Linked DNA regions of Homo sapiens: regions 2, 3, 4, 5 and 6 are each linked to region 1. The links are contacts of gene promoters, found by promoter capture Hi-C in blood cells and fetal thymus (Javierre and others, 2016). All regions are on one chromosome and are shown on one strand. Each heading gives the region's core, a stretch centred on a gene start or on the middle of the fragment in contact. The rest is flanking DNA. Distances are from core to core; before and after follow the strand shown. Region 1 holds the start of ENTHD1 (ENTH domain containing 1). Region 2 overlaps MIEF1 (mitochondrial elongation factor 1). Region 3 holds the start of RPS19BP1 (ribosomal protein S19 binding protein 1). Region 4 has its middle 19 kb from the start of CACNA1I. Region 5 overlaps CACNA1I (calcium voltage-gated channel subunit alpha1 I). Region 6 overlaps CACNA1I (calcium voltage-gated channel subunit alpha1 I).

What was found. The method cuts DNA at HindIII sites, captures the fragments that hold promoters and counts their contacts. A CHiCAGO score of 5 or more calls a contact.
Region 2: a contact is called between a fragment that was not itself captured here and the fragment with the promoter of ENTHD1 in region 1, in 1 of 17 cell types (activated CD4 T cells). The highest score is 5.4, in activated CD4 T cells.
Region 3: the fragment with the promoter of RPS19BP1 here is called in contact with the fragment with the promoter of ENTHD1 in region 1 in 1 of 17 cell types (naive CD4 T cells); the score reaches 5.2 in naive CD4 T cells.
Region 4: a fragment that was not itself captured here is called in contact with the fragment with the promoter of ENTHD1 in region 1 in 8 of 17 cell types (naive CD4 T cells, activated CD4 T cells, erythroblasts and 5 more); the score reaches 7.6 in naive CD4 T cells.
Region 5: a contact is called between a fragment that was not itself captured here and the fragment with the promoter of ENTHD1 in region 1, in 1 of 17 cell types (megakaryocytes). The highest score is 5.2, in megakaryocytes.
Region 6: a contact is called between a fragment that was not itself captured here and the fragment with the promoter of ENTHD1 in region 1, in 7 of 17 cell types (activated CD4 T cells, naive CD4 T cells, non-activated CD4 T cells and 4 more). The highest score is 16.3, in activated CD4 T cells.

The regions. Positions count from the first base shown.
Region 1 is chr22:39,892,461-39,895,064 of GRCh38, reverse strand. It overlaps ENTHD1 (ENTH domain containing 1), which reads left to right and starts at 1,305. Exons shown (of 7, transcript NM_152512.4): 1 at 1,305-1,370. It also overlaps a transcript of GRAP2 not described here. The HindIII fragment of the contact is 18,515 bases long and covers 1-2,604 here.
Region 2 is chr22:39,504,951-39,507,554 of GRCh38, reverse strand. All of the region lies in intron 2 of MIEF1 (mitochondrial elongation factor 1), which reads right to left. Among named protein-coding and RNA genes, the nearest start is that of MIURF, 2.0 kb to the right of the region's middle. The HindIII fragment of the contact is 1,592 bases long and covers 510-2,101 here.
Region 3 is chr22:39,531,423-39,534,026 of GRCh38, reverse strand. RPS19BP1 (ribosomal protein S19 binding protein 1) reads left to right here and starts at 1,279. Exons shown (of 4, transcript NM_194326.4): 1 at 1,279-1,340; 2 at 1,504-1,632. The coding sequence starts at 1,289. RefSeq lists enhancers at 1,085-1,134, 1,185-1,244, 1,034-1,549, 1,550-2,065 and silencers at 1,355-1,514, 1,695-1,824. The HindIII fragment of the contact is 8,920 bases long and covers 331-2,604 here.
Region 4 is chr22:39,550,561-39,553,164 of GRCh38, reverse strand. No RefSeq gene overlaps it. Among named protein-coding and RNA genes, the nearest start is that of CACNA1I, 19 kb to the left of the region's middle. The HindIII fragment of the contact is 2,704 bases long and covers 1-2,604 here.
Region 5 is chr22:39,591,944-39,594,547 of GRCh38, reverse strand. The region is part of intron 1 of CACNA1I (calcium voltage-gated channel subunit alpha1 I); the gene reads right to left. Among named protein-coding and RNA genes, the nearest start is that of CACNA1I, 22 kb to the right of the region's middle. RefSeq lists an enhancer at 1,831-2,604. The HindIII fragment of the contact is 440 bases long and covers 1,091-1,530 here.
Region 6 is chr22:39,611,132-39,613,735 of GRCh38, reverse strand. The region is part of intron 3 of CACNA1I (calcium voltage-gated channel subunit alpha1 I); the gene reads right to left. Among named protein-coding and RNA genes, the nearest start is that of CACNA1I, 42 kb to the right of the region's middle. The HindIII fragment of the contact is 1,488 bases long and covers 562-2,049 here.

The DNA.
Region 1 (2,604 bases), core at 56-2,555:
GTTGTAGTAACTACAGTACATGTAGTTTTTCCAAGATAATAGGCTGGCTCAGCTTTCATGCCTTTACACATGATGTGTCCTTTGCCTCTTACGTCCTCCTCTACTTTGTCTATCCAGTGAACTCCCTGTCATCCTTTAAGATTCAATTCAGATGTAAACTCTTCTGTGAAACCTGCCCTTAAATACTCAGTGGCAGAATTAGATGATCTCTTCTCTCTTACTATGCCATACATATCTTGTTACAATCTTCTCTGACGGTGCCTGTCACCTCCACTAGCCTGTAAACGTATCCAGCAGAGGGCTGCTTTTTATCTCCGAGTCCTTACTGTCTGGCACAAAGTGGGTGCTCACGGAAAATCAGTTGAATACATCAACAATTACCCGTCAGTGGCACCTGAAGCCATCAGTCACTGGAGCTACCCCATCATTGTCCATCACACACACTGCTCTTCATAGACTACTATTACATTCTCAGTCCTTTGAGGTGGCAATCACGTGCTGGTGGTATTTCTAGTCAGTTGAAATGACAGTAGTAACACACTTTTAAAAATGTATTCATGTGCCATGCTGGTGCGCTGCACCCACTAACTCGTCATCTAGCATTAGGTATATCTCCCAATGCTATCCCTCCCCCCTCCCCCCACCCCACAACAGTCCCCAGAGTGTGATGTTCCCCTTCCTGTGTCCATGTGTTCTCATTGTTCAATTCCCACCTATGAGTGAGAATATGCGGTGTTTGGTTTTTTGTTCTTGCGATAGTTTACTGAGAATGATGATTTCCAATTTCATCCATGTCCTTAAAACTTAAATAATAATAAATAAAAAAAAAGAGATATTATGCTAGAAGTCTGAGTATTTTACTGATTTTCCATTTTAAGAATAAATTATCATGGCAAATTTTAAGTTACATACATTATTTTATTGTCTACTTTTTAAAAACATTATCAGCTTACCTTGGCATTTTTTTTCTTTTTTTAATGTCCGTTTTTACGTTGTGAACATTTAGTAAATTAATTTATACTCATTTTTATTTAATTAAGAAAGCAGCTAAGAATAAATGCTAGTGTCTGATTAAACTATTTCCCAGATCTCAAAAAAAAAAAAAAATTTATTCTTTGAAAGGAGGATTAGGGCAGTGTCACAGCCCGGCAGCCTGTGAAACGAAGACACTTACCTTCATTCCCCTTGGTACCCTCCAGCTCAGGTATCTGCAACCATCTTGCTTGACGCCCTGACAGGAACTGCACCAGGCCAGAAAGTGAGGAAGCGGAAGTGGGGACCGGCCTGGGCCCTTGAGCCTGGCTGGAGTAGGTGGAATATCCTGGGGAGAGGAAGTTTGGTCGTTGGGCAGCGGCCGACTTTCCTCTCAGGTAACAGCCTCTGCTTGGGAGTGGTGGTGGGGCTCAAGGCGGGTCTGGAAACATCGGTTGCCTTCCCTCCTCCCGTTTCTTGCCGGCACCGTCGGAGTCCAGGTGGGGGCGGGAGGGCGGCGAGGCCATTACCATCCGCAGGAGGTGAAATCCCTGTGGCGTGACGTGACGCCATCACGTCCCTCTCTCCTTCTAGAGGCTTTCCTGAGGTCCAGCCTTCCCCTCCACTGCCGGTTCTCCTAGGGTAATTGCTGGTCTGATTCTCTGTGTGGCCGAACGCCCAGCACCTGGCTCATCTGGTACACAGTCGTCATCTGAAGTGGGGGTTGTATGAATGAAGACGAGGATGCCGAGGAAAGGCCCTGCCCACAGAAAGTTGATTCTTGCTCAGCCTCCACCCGCCATTTTCAAAATTCTTTCCAAAGCATCTCGTTTCTTCCTCCCCCACGGCCCTGTCTGGCGATTATTCTTTGTGTTGCGGATGAGGGAACTGAGACTTAGAGAAGTTGTTAAGTCTTAGTTAGGAAATGGCAAAGCAGGACCTCAAATCATGGCTTTGAATCCTAATTAAAGGAGAGAGATGAGGCATGTGAAGGCCCAGGTGTGAGCACATTGTGAGCGTTCAATGAAGAGTAGCTGTTTACTCCAGGGTGTGAGGACTGTGTCTTGTGCACCTGTTTCTCCATTTCCTAGAATGGAGCCTGCCACATGGTAAGCTCTGGAAGATTATTAGTTGAATAAATTAATGAACACACACTTAGGGCTGGAAAAGATTAGATTCTCTGCCTCTGACAGTATTCTTTTCATCAAAACAGTAACACCTCCTAATGGCATGGTAGTCTCTATAACCATTTTCCCGTAGCATTCTTGGCCAGAGCTCATTTCCTTACGAGTCAAACTCATGTCTATAGGCAGAACCTGTACAAACACAAGAGCTGTTCTTTTCTCATAGTTCCACCTTAAATGCATCTTTTCAGAGATAGCTCTGGACACTCAGCCTCTTAGATGCTATTGTCATTATTGTCCCAAGTCTTTGGATAAAGTCAGTTCAGCTCCTCTGTTCCTTATTCTCAATCCTGAAATCCAAAAACTTTTGGAAATCAACTTTTCCTCCAACTCATTTGGTGGTAAAACTTGGCCTGAGGCCATTTGTAGTCTTTATTCCAAATATTTACATGTTTTTATTGCAGACATGTTAATGTGTTTAATTGTTCAGAGCAGCTCCACACCTTAC
Region 2 (2,604 bases), core at 56-2,555, 390 kb after region 1:
AAGCCTTTTCGGCCGGGTACGGTGGCTCACGCCTGTAATCCCAACACTTTGGGAGGCCAAGGTGGGCAGATCACGAGGTCAGGAGATCGAGACCATCCTGGCTAACACGGTGAACCTCTGTCTCTACTAAAAACACAAAAAATTAGCCAGGTGTGGTGGCAGGCGCCTGTAGTCCCAGCTACTCGGGAGGCCGAGGCAGGAGAATCGCTTGAAGTCGGGAGGCAGAGGTTGCAGTGAGCCAAGATTGCACCCACTGCACTCCAGCCTGGGTGACAGAGCAAGACTCCATCTCAAGAAAAAAAGGCTTTTCCTACTGTAGTGCAATAGGCACCCCCCGCCCACCATCCAAGGACGGACTGACATCACAGACCTGGTGACCTGGAACAGAAGACGGCATCCACAAGCTCAACAGACAGACACGGACCTTACTTGAAAAGTTAATTCAACTTGTTCCAGTTTAAACTGCTTCTCCATGACACGCTCTCCACTCAGGTTCTGCTGCATAAGCTTACAGCCTACTAGCAGGTAAGAACTCCACCTCCAATCGGGACTGTCATGAAGGAACCCCATTGCTTAATGGGTACAGAGTTTCAGATGTGCCAGATGAAAAGGGTTCTGGGGCTCTGTTACCCAACAATGTGAATATACTTACTACTACTGAACTGTACACTTTAAAATGGTTAAGATGGTTAAAATAAAAAACAAAGAAGGAACACAGACCTGGTGGGCAGAACTAGGGATGGAGAATTTCAGCTCTGCCAATATTTCAGGCAAGTTATTTAACCTGTCTCGCTAGATACAAAAATGGGAACAGAAATGCTCATCACCCTAATATAGTTAAGGATGATGAATAATGGAGGCCTTGCGGCTTCCTAGGATGACAGCACAGAAGTGTGAAAGTTCCAACTTATTTTAATTGAAAAAGCCATAGGCCTTTTTATAAACCTATCTTGCTTGAGTATGTACGAGACTAGGTAGCAGATATTGAGTGTGTATTATGTGCTGGCAATTTTACACTTATTATTAATTCCCTCAATCCTCACAACAACAATCCCATGAGATCAGTAATATTATCCCAAATTTAAAGGATGAAGAAACTGAGTAGTTTCTGTAACTGACCCAAGGTCACTGTGTCAGTAAAGTATGTGACCAAGATTTGAACCCTGAGATCACGCGGTGCGGAGAACTAATCTACAGGGGTCCTAGGTACTTGCTCCACACCTTGTTCCCATCTCCACTCCATTAACCCCCAGACCATATGCTTCTGGGGGACATTTGGGCTCATTCACTGCTGCATCCCCAGGGTGTGCAGTGTTTGATGCATAGGGAGTATATGTTGTGGGAATGAAGTATTAACTCTACGGCGTTTTGTTTCTTGGTTTTTTTGAGGGGGTAGTGATAGCAGCGTGTAGCCCAACTCACAGCCAAAATATATTAGGAACACAAAGATTTCAAGGAACGCCCTAATTCCCTCCTAGATCCGCTAGCCAACCCTCCCTGTGCAGACAGGCTCCCATGGGCATCACCCCACCCCTGGCCCTGTACTGCCAAAGGCAGATATGCCAATCCTAAGTGGCTGAGAAGAACCAAAAGTCATTACATAAGGCTCTCTTCCTACTTTCCCTCCCCCAGTTAAAAGCAGCACCCTCCACCCAGCTGGCAGGCCTTACACCCAGTTACTCTTCATCTTTCTCTCTCCTCCTCCTGCCTCAGCCAACTGATCACCAAGTCCCACTGCTGTACACACTGTGTTTATATGTGGCCACCCCCACCCCTCGGTCCCTCAATCTGATCTGGCTACATCCACTGCCTCTAGTATCTCTCATCAATTTATTCTTCACACTGCCACTGGTATGCTCCCTCTACGATACAAATGTGGCTATGTCATTCCTCTGTTTACAGAGCTGTGATGGTCCCCACATAAGAAGATATACATTACAATCTCAACTTGGAGTCAACGTCCTTCCAGACCAGGCCCAGCCTCAACTCTGGCTATTTGCCTTACAGGGGTACCATGCTGGCCACATCAGACTTAAGTTTCCAGACTACAAAGTGCAGTTTCTGGACAGGCAGAGCTGTTTGAACCTATAATCCCAAAGCTTTGGGAGGCAAGGGTGGGAGGATCGCTTGAGGCTAAGAGTTTGAAAGCAGCCTGGGCAACATAGCAAGACCGTCTCTACAAAAAAAATAAATAAATAAAAAATTAGCTGAGCACATTGGTACATGCCTGGCGTCCCAGCTACTCAGGAGGCTGAGAAGGGAGGACTGCTTGAGGCCAGGCATTCAAGGTTCCAGAGAGCTATGATCATGCCACTGTACTCCAGGTTGGGCGAGAGCGAGACCCCGTCTCTTTTTTTTTTGGAGACGGAGTGTCACTCTGTCACCCAGGCTGGAGTGCAGTGGCGCGATCTTGGTTCACTGCAACCTCCACGTGCCGGGTTCAAGCAATTCTCCTGCCTCAGCCTCCTGAGTAGCTGGGACTTAAGGCATGCGCCACCATGCCCGCCTAATTTTTTGTATTTTTGGTAGAGACAGGGTTTCACCATGCTGACCAGGCTGGTCTCGAACTCCTGACCTTGTGATCCTCCTGCCTTGGCCTCCTAA
Region 3 (2,604 bases), core at 30-2,529, 360 kb after region 1:
AAGCACGTAGAACAGCACAAATGCTTGAGTTTGTGTTGGTTGTTATTATTACTCTCTAGCCGATGGAGCTTAAACGGTGTGGTCTATCCCGGAGGACGAACTCCAGGTCCCACACTCTGTGGTGTCAAGTACACAGAAGGCCCTCAGAACCCGGCTGAGTGAACCCAGTGGTCCCTTCTGATTCACCGTTCACTTATTGCGTGTCTTCTCCATGCCAGGTGCTGGGCTGCCAGCTGCAGATGGAGCAGCGAACAAGCCCAGGGCTCCTCCCCCAGGTAAGCAGTGTCACTTCTAGGCCAGAGGGGCTCAAATGTTTTGGTCTAAGAAGCTTCTTACATTTAAAACTTCAGAATCCCCTCACTCCTGTAATCCCAGCACTTTGGGAGGCTGAGGTGGGCGGATCACTTGAGGTCCGGAGTTCAAGACCAGCCTGGCCAACATGGCAAAACCCCGTCTCTACTAAAAATTTTTTAAAAAGAAAATTAGCCGGCCGTGGTGGCGGGCGTCTGTAATCTCAGTTACTCGGGAGGCTAAGGCAAAAGAATCGCTTGAACCCGGGAGGCGGAAGTTGCAGTGAGCCGAGATCGCTGCACTCCAGCCTGGGCGACAGAGCGAGATTCCGTCTCAAAAAAAAAATTAATTTAATTAAATAAAATAAATTTTAAAAAATTCAGGATCCCAAAGAACTTTTGTATGTAGGCAACTGATATTTGCCATACTAGAAACTAAAACAAAAATTTTACATATTCATTAATTCACTTAAAATGACAATAAACCCATTGCTTGGTAACATAAACAACGTATTTTATGAGAAATAATTGTAGTTTTCAAAACAAAGATATGTCTTTAATGTCTGGCTTAAGGGAAGACAACTGGATTCTCATGCTGCACTCAACCTGTGCGATACCTAGTGCTGGTTGAAGTATATGAAAAACACTCCGCCCTGTCCCCATCCTAGCCCGCCACGGAGCCACGAGACCCGAGAGGATTGGCCAACCCGGCGGAGCAGGTTGCGGACGGCTTCCGGGGAAGGAGGGGACTGAGCGCCAGGAGCCAGGTAGATTGGGATTGAGTAACACATGTGTCTTTCTGCGCCTTGGACCCGCCTCCAGTTTCCGCCCCTTCTTCCGCTCAAGTGTAAACCCCTAACGCATGCGTCCTAAGAAAGATGGGCACTTCCGCCCATCCCCCTCCGGATCCCTCTGTTCGGGCTCGGGTTTCCGCCGAGACGACAGGGACTGCCAGGTCGGAAGTAGTGTGAGGCTCGTGGGCGGAGCCAAGCGCCGCCATGTCCGCCGCCCTGCTGCGGCGGGGCCTGGAGCTGCTGGCGGCGTCCGAGGGTGAGGAGGGCTGGCCAGGGGACGTCCGGCGCGGGCAGGAGGATGGTAGTGGCTGCGGGCGGGAGCCCTGGATGGAAAACAATCCAGGCCGGGCTTAGCCCCAGTGGCATGGGAACGCTGCGCGCCCTCTGACCTGGGTCTCTTCCTCTCTCTTCCCCTACAGCCCCCCGGGACCCTCCAGGTCAGGCCAAGCCGAGAGGGGCTCCGGTGAAACGGCCCCGGAAGACGAAGGCAATTCAGGCCCAGAAACTGCGGAACTCGGCCAAGGGAAAGGTGCCCAAGTCGGCACTGGGTAAGTTCGGGAAGGGGCTGAAAGTGCTGCCTCCGGTGCTGGGACCTGCGCCCCAGAGGAGGTGGCGCTTGAGGCAGGGCTTGAAGCGTTCGCCCGGTATTGCTAGACCTACTGTGTGCCAGGCGCGGAGCGGGGCCCTGGACATACGAAGGTGACAGAACACGCCACCGTCCTGGTCCTCGTGGACTACGGCCCTAGTGGGGAGAGAAGCATCAAAGAATATCAAACCCAGTGTGTCATTGCTAAGTGCATTGAAGCCTATGAATTAAAAGACTACGGTACTCTGATGGGGACTTAGGCCAAGTCAGCCTTCTCTGAGGAAGCGACATTTCAGCCGAGAGCTGAAGGATGTATAAGAGTGAGCTAGGTGAAAAGTAGGAGAATATTCTAGGAAGAATAGTATGTGCAAAGGTCCTGAGTCAGAAAGGAGGTTGTTGCCTTTGAGAATTTGAAAAAATAAAGGCTGGTAAAGGTGACCTAGTGAATGAGGATCAAAGATGGAGCATTTAAACACATTCACTAACACTCTGTACCAGGTGCTGATTCTAAGTGCTGTACAAATGTAAGCTCGTTTGATCCTTACAGCAGCCCTTTGAGGTCGATACTACTATCACCCCCGTTTTACAGATTCAGAAAAAGGCACCTGCCCAGGTGGTACAGGCATTGTGGCTGCCCGGGCATTGTGTCTCCAGAGTGCTGCTATTACCTACTCCATTGAAATAGGACATGCTGTGGCCTGGGCAGTGGCTATAGCAGCAGAGATAACAAGAGAATTGTGCAGGTGGAAAATATGTTAAAGAGGGGGCAGCAGAGAATTTCAGCCTTTAGAGGGGTTTTAGTGGTGAATTGGCTGTGAAGGTGGAGCCTAGTTTCTTGGGGGACGTAGTGTCACTTAATAGACATAAAGACTTTCGGAGGGGCTGGTGTAGGCAAGATGGTGATATTTTGACATGTGTCAGGACGTGGCAAGCT
Region 4 (2,604 bases), core at 45-2,544, 340 kb after region 1:
GAGGACATTACGAGATGGAAAATTCTGGAAGTGCTGACTGTGGGTAAAACAGGGAGGAGATTTGGAATGAGACCCTAGGGAGGATGGGCCAGACGCTGGGCTTCCCATATGTGATGGGGCAGGCTGAACCCCAGCACCTGTGGGCACCTTGATGGGTTTGAAGAGGCCAAGATGGACCCAGAGCCCAGTCTGGAAGGTAGTGGCTGGATTGTTCTGCAACATAAAGAGAGAAGAATCAGAAGGTCCAGAGAGAAAAGAGTGGAGAGGGAAGGGAGAGGAGAGAAGAGATTGCAAGATGGAGGAGACCAGGGACACGCAGAGGGGGACGCACCTGGGGGGATCCCCCAGAAGCGGGGGGACTTCGATTTGAAGTGGTTTGCATGGCTGCAGTGTCAGTGTCCCTCCCCTGCCAAGTCCCCAGGAACATCTGCTGGACCCACAGGGGTACTCAGTGTGTGGATATCAAGAAAGGAGCCGAGCTCCCCCTCAGTGCTGACATGAACAAGAACAGCCCTGGGCATGTCACCCAGTCCATCCCCAACTGCACTAAGCCAGCAGAAGCAAAAGGTCAAAGCCAGAGGGGTCCAGGAGAACACTGGCAGCCCCCCAAGATTGCTGCATCCCTAGGAATCTGGGCAGGAAGTGTGGGGGTGGAGCTGGCTTATGTAGCTGAGAAGCAGGGAGCCCCTGGGCCCGGCTGCAGGTGTCCACTTCTTCTATCAGCCCACTTAACCCCCAGCAGTCCTAGGTGACAGGGATCATGCAGCTCCACTTACACTCGGGAGAACCAGAATCCGGAGAAATTAAGTAAATTGCCCAGAGTCACACAGCTAATAAGTAGCATAAACAGGATTCTATGCCAGAGTGCATGTGTGTGCGCATGTGTGTGTGTGTGAGAGAGAGAGAGAGAGAATCTATCTCTGCCCAGGACAAAAGCCTATCTATCTGCCCAGGACAAAAGCCTGGAGTGGGGGCAGAGCATAGCTGGGGACAGACCCCAGGAACCTCAAGTTCCTGCCAGGTCGGAGGTCCCTGACTCTCAACCAAAACAGGTAGCTGATGCCTGAGGAGCTTCCTGGACAGGGCTCAGAGAATCCAGTCTCTACTAACAATACAGAAATTAGCCGGGCGTGGCAGCATGCGCCTGTAATCCTAGCTACTCGGGAGGCTGAGGCAGGAGAATTGCTTGAGCCCAGGAGGCAGAGTTTGCAGTGAGCCAAGATCGCGCCACTATACTCCAGCCTGGGCAATAGAGCGAGACTCCATGTCAAAAAAGGAAAAAAGAAAGAAATTGAGTTCAAGAGAGCTGGTGTGACAACAGTTACACGCCAGGCCATCACTCAGTGATGTTTATTGACCACCTACTAAGTGCCACGTGTCAGGTATACAGAAACAGATGAACCCCAGCCCTGTGGGGAGAAGCCACATCTGGACAACCTGGATTTAAGCTCGGAAGAAAGGAGCTGGGAGCCCCCAGGAGGAAACGATATTTTCTGGGGTCAGACCAGGAGGGCCAAAGAAGGCTCCACAAAGGGAGAGACAGTGAAGGCCTAGAAGGGACAACAGGCAGTGGGCAGATCTGAGTTTTCCTAGCCAAGTATTGGAGGAAGGGCATCTCAAGCCAAGGGACAGCAGGAGCAAAGGCCCGGAGAGCATCAGGTTAAAAAAGACATGGGGGTCTGGGCGCAGTGGCTCACCCCTGTAATCCCAGCACTTTGGGAGGCTGAGGCAGGTGGATCATCTGAGGTCAGGAGTTCGAGACCAGCCTGGCCAGCTTGGTGAAACCCCGCCTCTACTAAAAATACAAAAATTAGTCAGGCAGGGTGGCAGGCGCCTGTAATCCCAGCTACTCGGGAGGCTGAGGCAGGAGAATCTCTTGAACCCAGGAGGCGGCAACCTAGGTTGCAGTAAGCTGAGATCATGCCATTGCACTCTAGCCTGGGCGACAGAGCAAGACTATCTCAAAAAAAAAAAAAAAAGAAAGAAAGAAAGAAAAGAAAATGACACTGGGGAAGAGGTGGAAGAGGGACCGGAAAGCCCAGCTTAGGAGCGACGGAGCCAGAGAGGAGAGTGGACGATGAAAAGAGGAAAAATCACCTTGAGGTGCAGGGGGTGGGGACCCTCTGCCCCTGCTGGCTTCTGTCCACCTCTGTCTCTGTCTCTTTGGGCGTCTCTCTCCTGCTTCCTGTTTCCCTTGCCTGGCTCCCTTCCTCCTTGGCGTTTCTCTGTCTTACCCTTTCTCTGGCTCTCTCCATGCCCCTCTGTCTCTCTGTCTCCCTAACTCTTCCTGTCTGTCTCTTGCTCTCCCGTCTCCCCGCTGTGTGTGTGTATGTACATCTCTCACGCACGTGTGCCCTCACACTCTTCCTTTCTGCCACTCCTGCTGCTTGGAGATAGAATAATAGAGCAGGCAACTATCCCTTTTATCCTCAGCTGGACAAAGTCCCGGCACCCGGGCAGTCAGGCTTCCAGGCAAACACCCTCAATGTCGCCATCAAGGAGAGACCATGAGGCCTGTGTGGTGGGAGTGGGTCTCAGGCTGGAGGCGCTGTAGTTGGCCAGGTCATTACTGTAAGCCTGGGCCCTGCCCTGTGGTCTTTCAAG
Region 5 (2,604 bases), core at 61-2,560, 300 kb after region 1:
TCCCGTCCCCTCACCCCACTGCCACTCTCCCGCCATAGCCTGTAATTAATTTCAGTCGCTGCCAGGGCCCCCTTCGAGCCTGAGCCTGGCTCCAGCAGCAGCTTCATCATTAATTAACTTTTTTGAAGTTCGAACATTCTAATTACCAAAGAACATCCCCCATCCCCCTCGCCTTTCCCCTCTTCCTGTCGTGCGCTCTCTCCTTCCAGCCCCATCCTCTGCTCCCTCTGCCCCTCCTGCCAGTTTCAGGCTCAAAGTGCACTTAGTGGCGTCTCCCAGGAGCCCGGTGCCCCTGCTGCCTCCTCAACAAGGCCCTGAGCAGTGGAGGTCAGCAGGCCCATTTTACAGATAAGGAAGGCTGAGACATGGGGAAATCAGGGGCCTCTCCTGGGTTTCACAGCTAGGAATTACTGGCACAGAGATTCACACCAGGCCTGCTGGACTCCAAGGCCAGCGCTCTCCTCTGTGAAGTACGGCCTGTCTCTGCCCATGGCTCTCCTCCCTCCCCTGAGGCCTCTCAGCCCATCTTCAGTGTGTCTCCCCAGGACCCTGACCCAGCATCCTCGGTATCCCCCAGCTCTGGTCTCTGCCCCTCCAATCTGCCCCACACGATAACCAGGCACTTGCTGTGTGCCCAACACAACTTGAACATTTTCCAAATGTTATCTCATTTAATCCTCACAGCTCTTTTATAAGCCCCATTTACAAATAAGGAAACCAAGACACAAAAGGGAAACAGATTGGCCCAAGGTCACCAGCTGGAAAAGAGCAGAGCTGAGACACAAAACCTCAGGCTGGAGGCTTTTCCTGCCTCCAAGCTGTTTTGCCACTGCCAGGCTAATCTGCCTGAAACACACTCTCCAGATGCCTCTCTCCTGCTCAAGAACCTCCCATGGCTCCCCATCACCCTCCCAAGCCTGGTACGCAAGGTAGACTCTCGCCTCAGTGAATCCTTGCAGTCTTATCACTCACTGGCCTCAGCACTCGCTTTCTCCAAACACGCCTTCTGCCTACACTTTCCCTTTCCTCCACCTCTCCAGCAGGCAGACTGTTTCAGAGCCCAGTTCGCAGGTCACCTCTTCTTGAAGCTTCCCCGGATGTGCCTCTTGCCCCTCACAAGGTGGTGGCTCAGCCTCCTCTCCAGAAGCACTCCCACCTGCCCTGGCTAGCACGTACCACAGTGATGAATTTGGCAGTACCTCTGACGACTGTGTACCAGACACCCTAGGGACATGACCTCAGCTCTCACAATCCCCTGGGGATGGAAAAGGAACAAGCCTGGAGAGCTGACACCACTCACACAAGGTCACCCAGTCCCCGAGCAGCCCAGATTGTCTGATTCACAGCAGTGCTGGTGGCCGCTGCACAGCACTGCCTCTGTGGCCCATCTAACTCGCCCACTGCACTGGGTCCCCGCAGGAGGCAGATGGAGTGGCTTTCATCCCTGGGCTGCTCAGCTTCAGAAATTCAGCAATGGATGGTCTCAGCCCTTGCCCAGAGGTGCCCGGGGAAATCCCAGATGGCAAAGCTTGGGCCCCTTCCAAGAGCCCAGGAGGCTTAGAAGTCAGGCCAGAACTGGCATCACTGCCCGCGGTTCCTGACACACTCCCCACTGGCTCAGGGATCAAAAGCACCAGCCCTCCTTGAAGTTAAACCAGACAGTGCAGTGTGGGGTAGGAGGGTGGCGGGGGGAGTCAAGGTCTCCGGCTTGAGCCACTCTGCAGCCTGGCCTGACGCCTCATGCTTCCACCATGAGTCACAAGTGTTGAGGAACTCTCTGAGAACACAGGCAAGCGAAGCCGTGAGGTTCGGGGACAACCTGAGGGAAGCTGGAGACCCAAGGGGGAGCACAGGATTTCTGGGTGACAGAGGGGGCAGGGCTGGAGTGCTAGTGCCACGACGGCAGGACGTCTTCAATGGCTCCCAACTGCCTCTCACAGCGAGGCTTGAAGCCCTGCGACGGGCATCCAAGGCCCAGCTGCCTCGCCTACTTCACCCCTCAGGCCCTCACTGCAGTCGGGGTGACCTTTGCCACAGAGCAGCCCTGCCAGCGTCGTTAGAGAGCAACGGCTCCAATCCCTCATTGCACTGATGGAAAACAGGGGCAGAAATCTGTCCCAGCTCCACAGCAAGCCCAGAGCTGAAGTGACACTTAGACAACAGACTCACCACCCACGGGGGTCCCCAAGCCACAGTCGATTTTTCAAACTCACACGGAAACCCTCCGCGTTTCCCCACACACTCGGCACAGCCACAGTACCATCACTTTAAGCTGGTTAGATCCCTGACGGGCAGCCCTGAGCGCCTTTGAGGAACACAGATGGAGAAACAGATCAATGGTGATGCAATCAATCGAGTTTCCTTGGCAGGCAAAGCCGTCCCAAGCACACAGGCCTCGGGGAGAAAATCACTCAGGGTCTTTGGGTGCTGCTGCAGAGCCCCCCAGCGCCTCAGCACAGCCTGGGCCCTCAGCCCCACTTCCTACCCACGTCCCCGCACCACACCTCTCAAAGTCTTCAGAACTGGGGTCTCAGAGCTGAGCAGGGGGAATGAATGTGCTTATATTGTGTGCCTGTTGTGTGCCAGGCGCCAGCCTGCCGGTGG
Region 6 (2,604 bases), core at 56-2,555, 280 kb after region 1:
GCCTCCGGCTCGGGAGCGTTACCCTCTGCTGACCAGGTAGGTGGAAGGCACAGCGCCCACCACAGCACTAGGACCAGGGCCAGCATCCTCCAAGGCAGTGCTACCCGATGGTCAGAGTACAGAGCTGGGTTCCAATCCCAGCTCGCTGCTTGTGTCCCATGTGACTTTGGGCAAGTCACTGACCTGAAACATGTTCATATACAGATCCAGTACTCAGAACAGGGCCTCACACAAGGAACAGCCAAGAAATGTGAGCTATTATTGTATCGCAGCCTCAACTGTTACCTCAGCTCACACGCGCCCACGAATCACATGAGGCCCTCTCCAGACCCCACCCCCAGGCAGAGATGAGCTCTTCTGCCTGGTGTCCCACTGATCCTCTATGAGGGCACCTCTGGGCACCTGTCCCTGTTCCTCAGAGCAGGGGTTGGCTCAGAGCCCCTGCTGGGTCCCCAGTGCCCAGCCCAGGTTCTGACTTAGAGGTGGATTCCCTGTGTGAGTTTGTCAAACAAATAATTTGAGGGACAAGATCAGAAAAAAAGAAGAAAGAAAAAAAAAGCTTGGAGCTGACAAGAAGCCACAAGAAATGACTGAGATTTAACATCTTTCCAGGAAATACCCCGCCCAGGAGATGATTTCTGTGTGTGGCTGATAAAAATAGGGTGTTTCCTCAATCTTCACAAGGGGCCCACGGGGGCTTTCTTAAAATGTGATTTAAGATGTAGCTAATGGAAGGGAAGCTGAGATGCTGGAAATCACAGATCATCTGTCAGGAGGCAGCTCTGTGATGACTCAGGCTTGTGTTGGTTGGTAACTAGACCACCAGCCATTGCCAATATCCGGGGACCTAGCACACAGTAGGTGTTCTGTGGAGGGATGGAGGGAAGGAGGGAGAGAAGGAGGAAGGAAATAATAGAGAGGATTTGGGAGTAATGACATTAACCCTTGACTGTGGCCAGCACCTCATGATTTATGGGTCATTTCACCCATTGCTATGGTCTGAATATTTATATCCACTTAAAATTCATACATTGAAATTCTATCCCCCAAGGTGATGGTATTAGGGCCTTTGGGGAGGTGATTAGATCATGAAGGCAGGGCCCTCAAGAATGAGATTAGCACCTTTTTAAAACAGGCAAAGGGAAACTCATCTGCCCCTTCACGTGAGGACTCAAGTGAGGACTCAATGAGAAGACTCATCTATGAGGAAGTGGCCCCCACCAGACATTGAATCTGCCAGCACCTTGATCTTGGACTTCCCAACCTCCAGAACTGTGAGAACTAGATTTCTGTTGTTTATGAGGCACCCGGTTTATGGTATTTTGTTAGAGCACCCCAAACAGACTAAGATACCTGTCTTAGTCCATTTTCTGCTGCTATAACAGAAGCAGAAAGACTGGATGATTTATTTTTAAAAAAGAAATTAATTTGGTTTACGATTCTGGAGGCTGGGAAGTCCAACATCAAGGAGCTGCATCTGGCGAGGACTTTCTTGCTGTGTCATCACGTGGCAGAAGGGCAAGAAAGTGTGTGTGAGACAGGGAAGGGGCCAAACTCATCCCTCTCATCAGGAACCCACTCCCACGATAACCATCCCACTCCCACAATAATGGCATTAATCCATCCACGAGGGCTGAGTCCTCATGACCTGGTCACTTCTTAAAGGTCCCACCTCTCAACTCTGTTGCACTTGGCATTAGGTTGCCAACACATGAACTATGGGAGACACATTCAAACAACAGCAACACTCGCAGTTCCTCACACAAACCTATGAGGCCAAAGAACAGAGGTTATTAAGCCCAGTTGACTGACGCTCTGAAACCAACTCAGGCCAAGCTCAGAGTACAGGGGGGATTTGGGGGAAGAATGCTGGGTTGGCCACAAAGCTGAGGGATGGGCTGCAAAGACAGAACCCAGGCAGGTGGGAACCAGGGCAGCTCTGGGAACCTCAGTGGCAGAAGACCTGGACCTTCTCTCTCCAAGCCTCCATTTGGGTTACTTTACTCCAGTGGTTTATTTCTGGGTAGAGTTGCCAGATAAATAGAAGCTTCCCAGTTAAATCTGAGCTTCAGATAAACAATGAATAATTTTAGTGTATGCCTCATGATGTCTGCCTCCCGTGAAACTTAGCTCCATTACTCCAGAGTAGTCTTGGCAGCACGGCAGGTGAGAATGGCTGCTGGGAACCAGAGAGTGGGCTCTGTGTGGTGCAGAGATGCTTTTGGCTCTAACCAGAGCCTGGGGGAAATGTTCCTCTCAGGGGACTCACCTCACTGCTTTCTGAGGGCTAGTGAGGCAAATCAACGGCTTATATTTCAGCCTCTGGAAATGTACAACCCCTTCATGTCATGGGTGAGCACGAGCCCTGGGGGCAGCCAGACCTGAGCAATCCCAGATCTGATCCATAAAGGCTGAGTGTGTCCTGAGGCAGGCTACCAATCTCTCTGACACTCCATTTTCTCATCTGCAAAATGGTGTTAACAATACTAATTTCTGGGGATTGTCAGGATGTAACACCATCATGGGTGTAAAAAAGCCCAACTCAGTCAGTTAATGATAGTTCATGGTAGGCCACCTAAACGGCTTGGTTTCCACCAGCCAGGG